Regions from separate parts of the Homo sapiens genome. Here all the other regions are linked to region 1. Evidence: promoter capture Hi-C in 16 types of primary human blood cells and fetal thymus (Javierre and others, 2016). All regions are on one chromosome and are shown on one strand. Each heading gives the region's core, a stretch centred on a gene start or on the middle of the fragment in contact. The rest is flanking DNA. Distances are from core to core; before and after follow the strand shown.

Region 1 (4,252 bases), core at 439-2,938:
TTCCTTATCACAACACTACTTACCTCATAGAACATCATAGATTATGTATGTATGTAAAGCACTTAGCAGAGCTGCTGGAAAACGGTAAGAACGCAATACATCCAGCTATAATCAGTCTTTCTCATCAGCAATGACAAGAACCCAAATGTTAGAAAGAGTACAGAAGAATGCCTAAGCAATTTAGATTATGTGAAAATGTAATTTCATTTGTATGAAACCTGTTTATTTTTCTATAATTGGCCCAGAAGTTTTGTAATGTATACATCAGAGAAGTGAAGTTCAAGAAGTTTTAAATATCTGCATCAAATTTCACTTTTTCTCTGGCTTATTCATTTAATCACACTTCTTTGCACCGTATTTGTTTATTCTGCATCTAATTTGGTTTATTCTGCATCTGGTTTATCTGGGGAGCCCTATTTTCCTGCACTTTTTGCCACACCTTGTTACAAACTCTGAGTCTACATCTAATGTTTAGTGACTTTGTTGAAAATGATTATTTTTAAAAACCAAGGTTTAGGCCGGGCGCGGTGGCTCACGCCTGTAATCCCAGCAATTTGGGAGGCCGAGGCGGGCGGATCACGAGGTCAGGAGATCGAGACCATCCTGGCTAACACGGTGAAACCCCGTCTCTACTAAGCAAAACACAAAAATTAGCCGGGCGTGGTGGCGGGTGCCTGTAGTCCCAGCTACTCAGGAGGCTGAGGCAGGAGAATGGCGGGAACCCGGGAGGCGGAGCTTGCCGCGAGTCGAGATCGCGCCACTGCACTCCAGCCTGGGCGACAGAGCGAGACTCCGTCTCAAAAAAACAAAAACAAACAAGCAAAAACAAGGTTTAAAACTCGGTTTCTTTTTGCTGAACTCATGGAACCGTGTCTACACTCCCAATTCTTGCCTAAGTCCACTCGTTTATTTTACCTCTACCCTTAAATGGCTTAAGGCGAAACACTTCATTTCCTATCTGTTCAAACGGGGTAACACTCTAAGGTGTTATTCCTAGGTTGACTTTCACAGTCCAGGTCCCAGTTTTGCCACTGACCCAGGTATGCCTTCTAACCTAGGCCTTGGCGCCGTACTCGATTTCCTCAAGCATAAAATCACAACTACGGTCCAGGTTACATTCGTTTCACCCGGTGCCTCCCGTGCCAGGTGGCCTTGGATGCCAGGAGAGCTGGCCAGCAGGGGGCGGGGCTAGCTGCCTCCCGGACGCTACCAGAGGATGCTGAAGCAGCGTCAGAGGGCGGGGCCAAGCAGGGTGACAGGTAGGTTGTGAGGTAGTCAGGGGCGGGGCGACGACCAGGGCTGCAGGTGGAAGGGGCAAAGCCGAGCCCCGAAGCAGTAGCTGAGTCAGGGGCGGAGAACAGTGGGGTGCTCTGGGGATGGGAGATCCGGCGGCACCCGGAAAAAGGATCAAGGCCAGCAGTCACCGGGACACAACCAAATGGGGACCGGGGGGGTAGCCGACCATGGGGCGGAGCCTGTGGTCTGGGAAACCAAGTGGGGAAAGTTCGGGAGTGACACTGCCAAGCTCACAGACCAGCAGAGCTTGGGTTAGGGCTGCTGGAGCCCGGCAGGGGTCCCGGGATCAGTACCTGAATAAGCGCCTTCACCTCCAGGTCAAATTTGACAATCTCTTGGTTACAGATCCGGACGTGGACGTCTTGGGGAGCCGCCATGTTGGGGACGCCGGCTACGGGCAGCGGCAGGACCCAAGTTCAAACGCGTTTTCGCACCACCTTCTTTCCCTCCCCACCCAGTCTCGGGGCAGCGCCCCCTAGAGACCGGCGAAAATGGCAAGCGAGGGTCACTGCGCAGAGTTGGGACTTTCCCTGACACGTGTAGGGAAATCAGCCTCTCCTCTTGGTATGGCCCTAATAACATGGAGAGGAAGGGAAGAGGGAATATCAAGAACGCTTCACAGTGGTCTCTTTCCATCTTCCTTCTGTCAGGCATTCTAATAACTATATATTTTTTACATAGAAAAAAAAAGACTGGAAGAAAAGTATCAATTGAGATGTCTCTGGAAAGTACCAGTAATAATTTTTTGTTTCTTCAAACTTTCTTATATTTTTAATATTTTCTACAGTGAGTATAAATTGTGGAGTAAAAGAGGAAATGATAAACGTCATATATTTTTTAAAGTATGGAGTTCAAGGCAGGTCGGTAGAGTACCTCCTATCACTCCAACACATGATCTAAGGGATCTTTGTAAAACACGAAATTGATCAAGTCACCTACCTGTATGCAGCCCTTCTATGGCTTCTCGTGTTTCCCTTTTGTATACAACTGGATTTATTAAATCTACCTTGCTAAGGTAGTTTTGATGGAAATGTCAGAGCAAACCCTCAACAAATGGTGGCTCTTTTATTTTTGTTAGTAAATAATCCAAGTTTCTTAGCTGGTCCTCAAGGCCATCAGCCACCCCGGCCATCAGCCACCGCACCCTGCGCCCTTCCTGGATTGCTCAAGCTCCTTCTGGATGTGTAGCCTTAGAATGTGGTGTTCCCTCTCCCTAGAAAGCGTTTCCCCCACTCGACCCCACTCCATCTGCATTTGTTCGGGTCACTTCAGCAAGCATAGATTGTGAGGACCTAAAGGCTTAGGACTTGAATGTTCATCTCTCTCTCTTTTTTTTTTTTTTTTTTTGTGGCGGAGTCTCGCTCTGTTGCCCAGGCTGGAGTGCAATGGCACAATCTTGGCTCACTGCAAACTCTACCTCCCAGGTTCAAGCAATTCTCCTGCCTCAGCCTCCTGAGTAGCTGGGATTACAGGTGCGTGCCACCATGCCCAGCTAATTTTTGTATTTTTCATAGACACGGGGTTCACCATATTGGTCAGGTTGGTCTCGAACTGACCTCGTGATCCACCCGCCTCGGCCTCCCAAAGTGCTGGGATTACAGGCGTGAGCCACTGTGCCCGACCATGTTCATCTCTCTTAATCCTCACAACCACCCTTGAAATTGTACTACACTATTATCACAGATCAGGAGTAGGGCTTAGAGTAAATTAAAACAAAAAACAATCAACCCTGTTGCAAGATTACCTATCTTGAAAGTGGCAAAGCCTAGGCCGGGCACGGTGGCTCATGCCTGTAATCCCAGCACTTTGGGAGGCCGAGGCGGGTGGATCACGAGGTCAAGAGATCGAGATCATCCTGGCTAACACGGTGAAACCCCGTCTCTACTAAAAATATAAAAATTAGCCGGGCGTGGTGGCGGACGCCTGTAGTCCCCGCTACTTGGGAGGCTGAGGCAGGAGAATGATGTGAACCCAGGAGGTGGAGCTTGCAGTGAGCCGAGATCGCCCCACTGTACTACTCCAGCCTGGGCGACAGAGCAAGACTCCATCTCAAAAAAAAAAAAAAAAAAAGAAAAAAGAAAGAAAGAAAGTGGCACAGCCTCTACTGAAAGCCATCTTTTCCCCAAAAAATCAATATGGTCCCCACCTGTTGTAAGCGGGGCTATGTGCTTGTCTGTGTCCCTACAGCCCTCTACACACCCTCTCGTAAGGTATTCATCACCCCACTGCACCTAATAGAGAGGCAGTGTATCACAGGCTTGGCATCTGCCTGGGCTCAAATCCTGTCCACCACACACTTCGCATGCCTGTGCCTCTGTCTCCTCGGAAGCTAACTGGTGATAATCAATTGCGCCTACTTCACAGGTTGGAGAATTAAATGAGAAAATACATGAAAAGCACCAAGCACAGTGTGCTAATGTGGCATATAGTAAGATCTCAATGCCCGTTAGCTGCTGTTATTCTACTACTAGCCCACATTTTGGGAGCACTTCCTATGTGCCAGGAACTTTGTACTAAGCGCTTCATGTGTGTCTCGCTTAACTCTTACAACAACTCTGTGAGGTAAAAACGGGGCAGAGAGGAATAATGACTTGCCCAGAGCAAATGGAGTTGCTAGGTCAAAGGATATATGCATTTAAAAATTCTGACATATTACCAAATTGCTCTTCATAGGGATTATGTCAATCCATACTCCCTCCAGCAACATGGCATAAATGCCTGTTTCCCGTGGCCTTGTCAACAGGATAGGTTAACAAACATTGGAAGTTTTGCCAATCTGATTAGGTAGAAATGCCTTCTTTAGTTTATGCTTTTCTGATCATGAAGGAGGCTGAGAAACTCTACCTATGCTTCAGAGCTATTTGCATTTATTCTATTGTCTGCTCATTGTTCTATTGGGTTGTTGGTTTTTTTCATATCCGTTTCCAGGAACTCTATATATTAGGAGGATTAGTCC
Region 2 (4,252 bases), core at 1,095-3,594, 150 kb after region 1:
TATTAGTAGAGATGGGGTTTCACCGTGTTGGCCAGGAGTTTCGAACTCCTGACCTTGTGATCCGCCTGCCTCAGCCTCCCAAAGTGCTGGGAATACAGGCATAAGCCAACACGCCCGGCCCCCATTTTCCCTTTTATAAGGTACCACCACTGACCTTACTGCTCACATTGCAGAGATCTTCAAAGCAATAAAAACAAAGGCCTTTTCAATGACAGACCAATCCTTGACACCTGGATTGATATGGCGCTCCCTTACTGATTTCCATAGGCGATTCAGTAGGATAGGCTGATGGTCAACCATCGTACTAAAATCAGTTCTTGATGATACATGTATTTGCCCTCATTTACTCTTTTTTTTTTTTTTTTTTTTAAGATGGAGTCTCACTCTGATGCCTAGGCTGGATGCAGTGGAGCGATCTTGGCTCACTGCAACATCCACCTCCCGGGTTCAAGCAATTCTCCTGCCTCAGCCTCCCAAGTAGCTGGGACTACAGGTGCGTACCATCACGCGCAGCTAATTTTAAAAATTTTTTTTAGTATTGATGGGGTTTCACCATGTTGGCTAGGTTGGCCTTGAACTTGTAACCTCAGGTGATCTTCCCGCCTTGGCCTCCCAGAGTGCTGGGATTACAGGCGTGAGCCACCACACCAGGCTTCATATACTCTTTACAGCCAAACACAGTGATAAGAATTCCCTCCACATGCAACCTGTGTTCCACTCTGGAGGCTAAGTTATCACCTGAACAAGCTTCTTTTAACACTCTAACCAAAAAAAAAAAAAAAAAAAAAGACTAAATTTTAAGTTTCATCAGCTGGGCCTTAGTGTTTAAACAGTCAAACAACATCATTTATCACAACTTTTTTTTTTTTGAGACAGGGTATCACTTGGACCCCCAGGCTGGAATGCACTGCCGCAATGACAGCTCACTGTAGCCTTGACTTCCCCGGGCTCAGGTGATCCTCACACCTCCACCTTCCCGGTAGCTGGGACGACAGGCATGTGCCACCACAATCGGATAATTTTTTGTAGAGAAAGGGTTTCAACATGTTGCTCAGGCTGGTCTTGAACTCCCGGGCTCAAGTGATCTGCCCGCCTCAGCTTCCCAAAGTGGTGGGATTACAGGCGTGAGCCACCATGCCCGGCCTAGAACTTTTTTTTTTTTTTTTGAGACGGAGTCTCGCTCTGTCGCCCAGACTGGAGTGCAGTGGTGCAATCTCGGCTCACTGCAAGCTCCGCCTCCGGGGTTCACGCCATTCTCCTGCCTCAACCTCCCAAGTAGCTGGGACTACAGGCACCCACCACCACGCTCGGCTAAATTTTTTTTTGTATTTTTAGTAGAGACGGGGTTTCACTGTGTTAGCCAGGATGGTCTCGATCTCCTGACCTCGTGATCCGCCCGCCTCGGCCTCCCAAAGTGCTGGGATTACAGGCGTGAGCCACCACGCCTTGCCCCTGACCTTTAGTCTTTCACTTCCAATTTTGTGGAATGATATTTTAGGAGTAACAGATTTTTAAAGAAGAAGAAGAAAAAAAAAGACTGAATTTCCTTGCTTACTTTGCATATACAGACTGGATTTTTTTTTTAACAGCCATTTCCCCAAAGGAATGTGTCTTGCATATTACTGACATTTGGTATATTTCATTCATCGGAATATTTCTTGTTTTCTACGTGTTTCAAAAACCTGTGAGAAATACAGGACTTGATAACATTTTGAAGGCAGGAAAAACCCAAATTGTTTCTTCTTTGAGAGTCATGACTACCTTCTGGTGTGGAGAATTTGTCATTGGAAAATTTGACAATTTTGATTCTCACTGGTATGTTTAAAAACTGAATTAAAGGAATAGAATTTTTCTTTTGATATAGGATCACAAAACAATTCTAAAACCTACTGTTTTTACCACTGAAATTTAAACTGCGATATAGGTTTTAAATGTCTGGAATGCAACTGATAGGCTTTTCTTGAACTGTTAGTTTATTTGAAATAGAGTTTTTTCATGTTTAATTTGTATTTGAAAAAAAAAAAAAGAAAAAATTCCCCAAACCCAGATAACAACCAGAGCAAAATTGTTGTGCCTTCTATTTCTCTTTGATTTCAGTCTTGGCAATTGTTTAAAGAAAAGTAATTTTTTAAAAATCTGGATTTGTTTTATTAGGTTCAGAGTATGTGGGGAATTGTAGAATCCCTCTTTCATCACCTTGTATGTCTTCTGTTAACATATGTGTTATGCCTTATTCTAAAATTGATCTCAAATTGGAATGCCTTTGAAGACAGATGCTTCTATAGAGGTTCTTTGACCTAAATAGTTCAGCATTTGTATTTTTACTCTGATATCTGATCAGATTCCTAATCATAGCCCATAAGAAGGAATGTGACTTTATGTATGTATGTATGTATGTATGTATTTTTTTTTTTTTTGAGGCGGAGTCTCGCTCTGTCGCCCAGGCTGGAGTGCAGTGGTGCAATCTCGGCTCACTGCAACCTCTGCCTCCAGGGTTCAAGTGATTCTCCTGCCTCAGCCTCCCGAGCAGCTGGGACTACAGGTGTGCGCCACCAAGCCCAGCTAATTTTTTTTTGTATTTTTAATAGAGAATGGGTTTCACCATGTTGGCCAGGCTGGTCTCAATATCCTGACCTGGTGATCCACCCGCCTCGGCCTCCCAAAGTGCTGGGATTACAGGCATGAGCCACCGATCCTGGCCGGAATGTGACTTTAATACTGGACTTTGCTGATGTGCTTGTGTCCACATTTTCTCTTTAAATCACAGCTATTTTAAATCACAGCTATATGGTAAATTTTCTATTTTGTTATGGTCCTCTTTTATTAACGGGCATGCAGTGGGTGTTTCTTGGAAATGGCCAATTTTTATTAAAATGTTTCTGGAAAAAAAAGTCATGGTCTTTCATCTATAGGATGGGTCAGAACTGTTGCTTCCTACCTTACATGGGCACTAAACAGCACTTCTGTGAACACCAACACTTTCCATGTCTCTGAAGTCTCAGGAAGCTAGAAAGTTCTCTTCAAAAAAAGAGAATCACTGGTTCTAAACTCTAGAAAGAAATCCTGGCTGGGTGTAGTGACTCATGCCTGTAATCCTAGCACTTTGGGAGGCTTAAGATGGAAGGATCACTGAGGCCAGGAGTTCAAGACCAGCCTGGGTAACACAGTAAGACTCCATCTCTACAAAAATAAAAAAGTTAGCTGAGCATGGTGGCGCATGACTATAGTCCCAACTACTTGGGAGGCAGAGGCAGGAGGATCGCCTGAGCCTAAGAGTTTGAGGCTGCAGTGAGCTATGATTGAGCCATTCCAGCCTGGGTGACAGAGCAAGACCCTGTCTCAAAAACCTAAATTGAAAGAAATCCTTAGGATTATTTTTATGGTATGTGATCAATACATATATTTTGATACAGCTTACAATGAATTGTTAAAAAATTATCCTTAGTCTACTTGGTTATAATTCTAGCTCAATTTCTGTCCATCAGATAAACAAAAGTCACAGTAAAGAATAGCTTTATTAGCTCCATTAGTGAGATATTTCAGTAAAATAAGTAGATCTAAATACTTCACAATAGTATACCGGGCACAGTGGCTCATGCCTGTAATCCCAGCACTTTGGGAGGCTAAGGCAGGCGGATCACTTGAGGTCAGGAGTTTGAGACCAGCCTGGCCAACATGGCAAACCCGTCTCCACTAAAAATACAAAAATTAGCCATGCATGGCGGCGTGTGCCTGTAACCCCAGCCATTTAGGTAGCTGAGGCATGAGACTCACTTGAACCCAGGAGGCCGAGGTTGCAGTGAGCTGAGATCACACCACTGCACTGCAGCCTGGGCGACAGAGCGGGACCTTGTCTCAAAAGATAAATAAATAAGTAAATACTTCACCATAGTAAAATATAAAGTAGTATAATCATAATTTCCAGCTACTTATAAGCTTTAACATTTGTGCCAATTAAACAGAAGTTGTATTCCCAGAAGGATAGAGTATCTGTACAACTCTACATAAATATACTGAGCATATGAAAAGTGTGATATTTTCAATTTTAGGACACTATTTCTAGATATTACATGAGGGATGAGCTCCAATAAAACAAATGTGTAAATCGCACACACTACAAATACCAAGAATAATTACTTAAGAAAAAATTACTTACAAGAGATAGCAGCAAACTGAACAGGTCACCAACATGGTAATGATAACTCTAAAAAAAAAAAAAAATGCAAATGTCATTAAATAACTAGCAAACTAT
Region 3 (4,252 bases), core at 1,055-3,554, 130 kb after region 1:
TGGTCAGGGAAGGAGGAAGACAGACAGGGGAATGAAGCAGAATACACACTGCCTTTAGTTCCTACTCAAAATCCAGCTGACCATTGAACATGGGTTTGAACCATGCAGGTCGACTTGGATGCCTGGGCCTGCTCATATGCCTGCCTGTCCTGCCTCCACCTCCCTTTCCACCTCCTCCACCTCTTCTGCCTCTACCACACCTGAGACAGCAGGACCAAGCCCTCTTCTTCCTCCTCCTCAGCCTACTCAGTGTGAAGACAACAAGGATGAAGACCTTTATGCTCATCCACTTCCACTTAATATAATAGTAAACATATTTTCTCTTCCTTATGATTTTCTTAACATTTTCTTTTCTCTACCTTCCTTTATTATAGGAACACGGGATATAATACGTATACAAATTATGTGTTAATTGACTGTTTATGTTATTGGTAAAGCTCCTGATCAACAGTAGGCTATTAGTAATTAAATCTGGGGGGATTCAAAAGTTATAAATGGATTTTCAACTGTGCAGGGGATCGGAACCTCTAACTTCCACGTTATTCAAAGGTCAACTGTGTATGAATTTGAATTTCTTTCATTGGTGGGCAGTGGTGTGGGGAGGAGGGCAGGGTTAAGGTAAACAAGCCCAACCAACCTCCAACTACCAATCTGGGAGAGTGAAATTTGGTAACATACTGCTATCCTTTCTGCATGGTACATTGGGATCTAGGGAATCCCTTTCTTTTCTTTTCTTTTTTTTTTTTTTTTTTTTGAGAAGGAGTCTCGTTCTGTTGTCCAGGCTGGAGTGCAGTGGCACGATCTCAGCTCACCACAACCTCCACTTCCTGGGTTCAAGCAATTCTCCTGCTTCAGCCTCCTGAGTAGCTGGAATTACAGGCACGCGCCACCATCCCCAGCTAATTTTTGTATTTTTAGTAGAGAAGAGGTTTCACTATGTTGGCCAGGCTGGTGTCGAACTCCTGACCTTGTGATCCGCCCACCTTGGCCTCCCAAAGTGCTGGGATTACAGGCGTGAGCCACTGCAGCCGGCCAGGAATCGCTTTTTTTTTTTTTTTTTTAGACGAAGTCTCACTCTCGTCACCCAGGCTGGAGTGCGATGGCACGATCTCGGCTCACTGCAACCTCTGCCTCCCGGGTTCAAGCGATTCTCCCGCCTCAGCCTCCCGAGTAGTTGGGATTACAGGCGCCTGCCACCACACTCGGCTAATTTTTGTATTTTTAGTAAAGATGGGGTTTCACCATGTTGGCAAGGCTGGTCTCGCACTCCTGATCTCACGTGATCCGCCCACCTCGGCCTCCCAAAGTGCTGGGATTACAGGGGTGAGCCACCACGCCCAGCAGGGAATCACTTTCTAAGGGTAAGTGGATATATCACTACAGCAGTCTCCTTTCACGCTTTCAGGACTTTAAATTTCCCTATAAGCGGGGAACTAGCCAAGCCCCAACTAGGCCATTATCCGGGTGGATCTTTTTTCTTTCATTTACTGTCATTTTTAGAGCTTTTCCAATCAGAGGATCAAAAGGCTGATTCTGATCACCAATGGAGAGATTGCTGGAGAATTAGCCAGCACCATATCAGAAGCTTGTGCCCACAGAAACAAAAGGTGATTTTGTGACAGGAAACATGACACCTGAGGAAAGCAGGCCAAAACAGATAGTTCAAGCTGACTCACTTAATAAACAAAAAGTTCATTCAGATGAGATTTTCTGATCCATCCTTAGAAGTAGGGTATTAAACACAAACACAATACTAAGACTTGTAGTTGAGGTTCAACATCATCCATCTGACATTATAAAAAAAGGAAGAGAACAGCACAGGCGGACACACTGAAAAGCTCTGTGACTGCAGTTGACGCTAATGGTGCAGAGCTAAGAGTCATGGAAAATTCCAAACTAACCAAGGACTTCCCCAATCCCGGCAGGCAATACAAGCTGCCTGAAAAAACACTTTCGTAAGAGACTGAGACAACTGGCCAATGCCTAGAAATACTAAAAAAATCCATTAGAATTTAAACTAGCCCCTATCTCCTTTTGTTACCAAGAATATAGCACAGAATGAAAACACCACTTCCCAGCACTTTGTAGGATGTTGTAGCGGAGTGGTTCTCCTCCCCAGCTGCAAATTATAATCACTCAGGGAACTTTTAAAATATACTGATGCTATTTCTGAGAGTGGAAAAAACATTGACTCCTTTTCCTCTGCTTTCACACCACAATAATCAACACAGAAGAGACTTCTACAGCCAAATGTGTGGGGATTTCTCCCCACCAACAAGCACACAATCAATTCTGCAGCGGACTCCAGCTGGGTGTCCTCCAATTCAATCCTGACATTATCTGCCTGGAGGTAGCATCAGCATCAGATCTCACAGGGTGAGGGCTTGGTTCCACAAGACCGCCCCTCACTTCTGATGCCAATCGCAAGCCCCAGGTTGTTCTACCTGTGCTTCTGACCAACTGGCTATAAATCGGGGAGGCTCTAACCTTTCTTAGGTTCAATTAATCTACTAGAGCAGCTCGCGGAGCTCAGGGAAACACGTTTTCTGGTTTACTATAAAAGATACTACAATCTGGGCATGGTGGCTCACGCCTGTAATCTCGACACTGGGAGGCCAAGGCGGGTGGATCACTTGAGCCCAGGAGTTCGAGATCAGCCTGGCCAACATGGTGAAACCCGTCTCTACTAAAAATACAAAAATCAGCTGGGCATGGTGGCACACATCTGTAGTCCCAGCTACTTGGGAGGGTGAGGCAGGAGAATCACTTGAACCTGGGAGGCAGAGGTTGCAGTGAGCCAAGGTCGCACCACTGCACTTTAGCCTGGATGACAGAGTGAGACTGTCTCAAACAAACTAACAAAAGATACTACACAAGATACTGATGAAGGGATGGACAGGGTGAGCTATGGAAAGGGGCACAAAGTTCTCATGCTCTTCCTGGGAACACCAGCCTCCAGGAATAGCTTCCAGCTTTCCTGAACCTCTCAGAACCCAATCCTTTTGGGTTTTTATGGAAGCTTCATTGTGTAGGCATGATTGATTACATCACGGGCCATTGGTGATCAGTTTAAGGTTCAGCCCCTCCCCCTTCCCCTATGGTTGGGCTGTGGGGCTGAAAGTCCCAACCCTCTAATCCTTCCTTGGTTCGTGATTAGATCCCATCCTGGAGCTACCAAGGGGCTGCCAATCATCAGTCAACTCATTAGCATACAAAGACACATGTCACTTTGGAGATTCTAAGGATTTTAGGAGTTGTATACCAGGAAATGGGAACAAAGACTAAATTTGTATTTCACAATATCACAATTTCACATATAACCTTTCATTTAATTCTTGTACTAGGAAACAGGCAGAGAGAGTCTAAGTGATTGGCCTATGGTCACAATGCTAATTAGGTAGTAGTAGATCCTAGACCAGGAATCAGATCAGATTACTGTTCCCACTTCAAAAAGTGACCTTCTGGAATATTTTAACTGAGAACATTTCAGAAGGCATTAATTTAGCTAAATCTAAATTGAGAATTCAGAAAATGAGAATCCATCCACTGAGCACTGATTAAGTTCAACACAAGCCTTTGGTGCCTTCACTAAAGAATATCCAGAAGAAAGAATGAAGACCCCTTTCTTGGTCAGGTCAGTATTTAGAAACTGTTTTTTCTTCGTATTTACCATTTCTCTGTGTTGGTATCATTTCAAGTCCTCGCTTCCCGTTAGTATGAAATACACAAAGTACTGTTGCTGAGTATAGTCACCCTATTTTGCAATCAAACATAGAAGAAACTTATTTCCTCTGTTTAATGTTTGTGCCCATTTTACGGGTACCCCACATGTTTGTACCCATTGTGCTACTCTTTATTCCCACAACTTTCCTTCCTTCCCAGTCTCTCATATCTATCATTCTACTCTTCATGTCTTTGACATCAAATTTTTTAGCTCCCACATATAAGTGAGAACATGTGATATTTGTCTTTCTGCACTTGGCTTATTTCACTTAAGATAATGGCCTCTAGTTCCTCCCATGATGCTGCAAATGACATGATTTCATTCTTTTTTTATGGCTGAATACTATTCCGTAGTGTACATATAACACATTTTCTGCATGCGTTCATCTGTTGACAGACACTTAGATTGATTCTCTGTCTCTGCTACTGTGAACAGCACTGCGATCAACATGCGAGAGTGCAGGTATACCTTTTATATATACTGATTTCTCTACCACTGGATAAATACCCAGTAGCGGGAATGCTGGAT

The links. The method cuts DNA at HindIII sites, captures the fragments that hold promoters and counts their contacts. A CHiCAGO score of 5 or more calls a contact.
Region 2: a contact is called between a fragment that was not itself captured here and the fragment with the promoter of BNIP1 in region 1, in 9 of 17 cell types (naive CD4 T cells, naive CD8 T cells, M2 macrophages and 6 more). The highest score is 9.6, in naive CD4 T cells.
Region 3: a contact is called between a fragment that was not itself captured here and the fragment with the promoter of BNIP1 in region 1, in 2 of 17 cell types (monocytes and activated CD4 T cells). The highest score is 5.3, in monocytes.

What each region holds. Positions count from the first base shown.
Region 1 is chr5:173,141,967-173,146,218 of GRCh38, reverse strand. BNIP1 (BCL2 interacting protein 1) reads right to left here and starts at 1,688. Exons shown (of 6, transcript NM_001205.3): 1 at 1,590-1,688. The coding sequence starts at 1,673. RefSeq lists enhancers at 956-1,025, 967-1,495. The HindIII fragment of the contact is 7,780 bases long and covers 1-4,252 here.
Region 2 is chr5:172,994,727-172,998,978 of GRCh38, reverse strand. ATP6V0E1 (ATPase H+ transporting V0 subunit e1) reads right to left here. Exons shown (of 4, transcript NM_003945.4): 2 at 4,157-4,204. Among named protein-coding and RNA genes, the nearest start is that of ATP6V0E1, 13 kb to the right of the region's middle. The HindIII fragment of the contact is 3,189 bases long and covers 750-3,938 here.
Region 3 is chr5:173,014,343-173,018,594 of GRCh38, reverse strand. The region is part of intron 2 of ATP6V0E1 (ATPase H+ transporting V0 subunit e1); the gene reads right to left. Among named protein-coding and RNA genes, the nearest start is that of SNORA74B, 4.3 kb to the left of the region's middle. RefSeq lists an enhancer at 601-1,144. The HindIII fragment of the contact is 1,434 bases long and covers 1,588-3,021 here.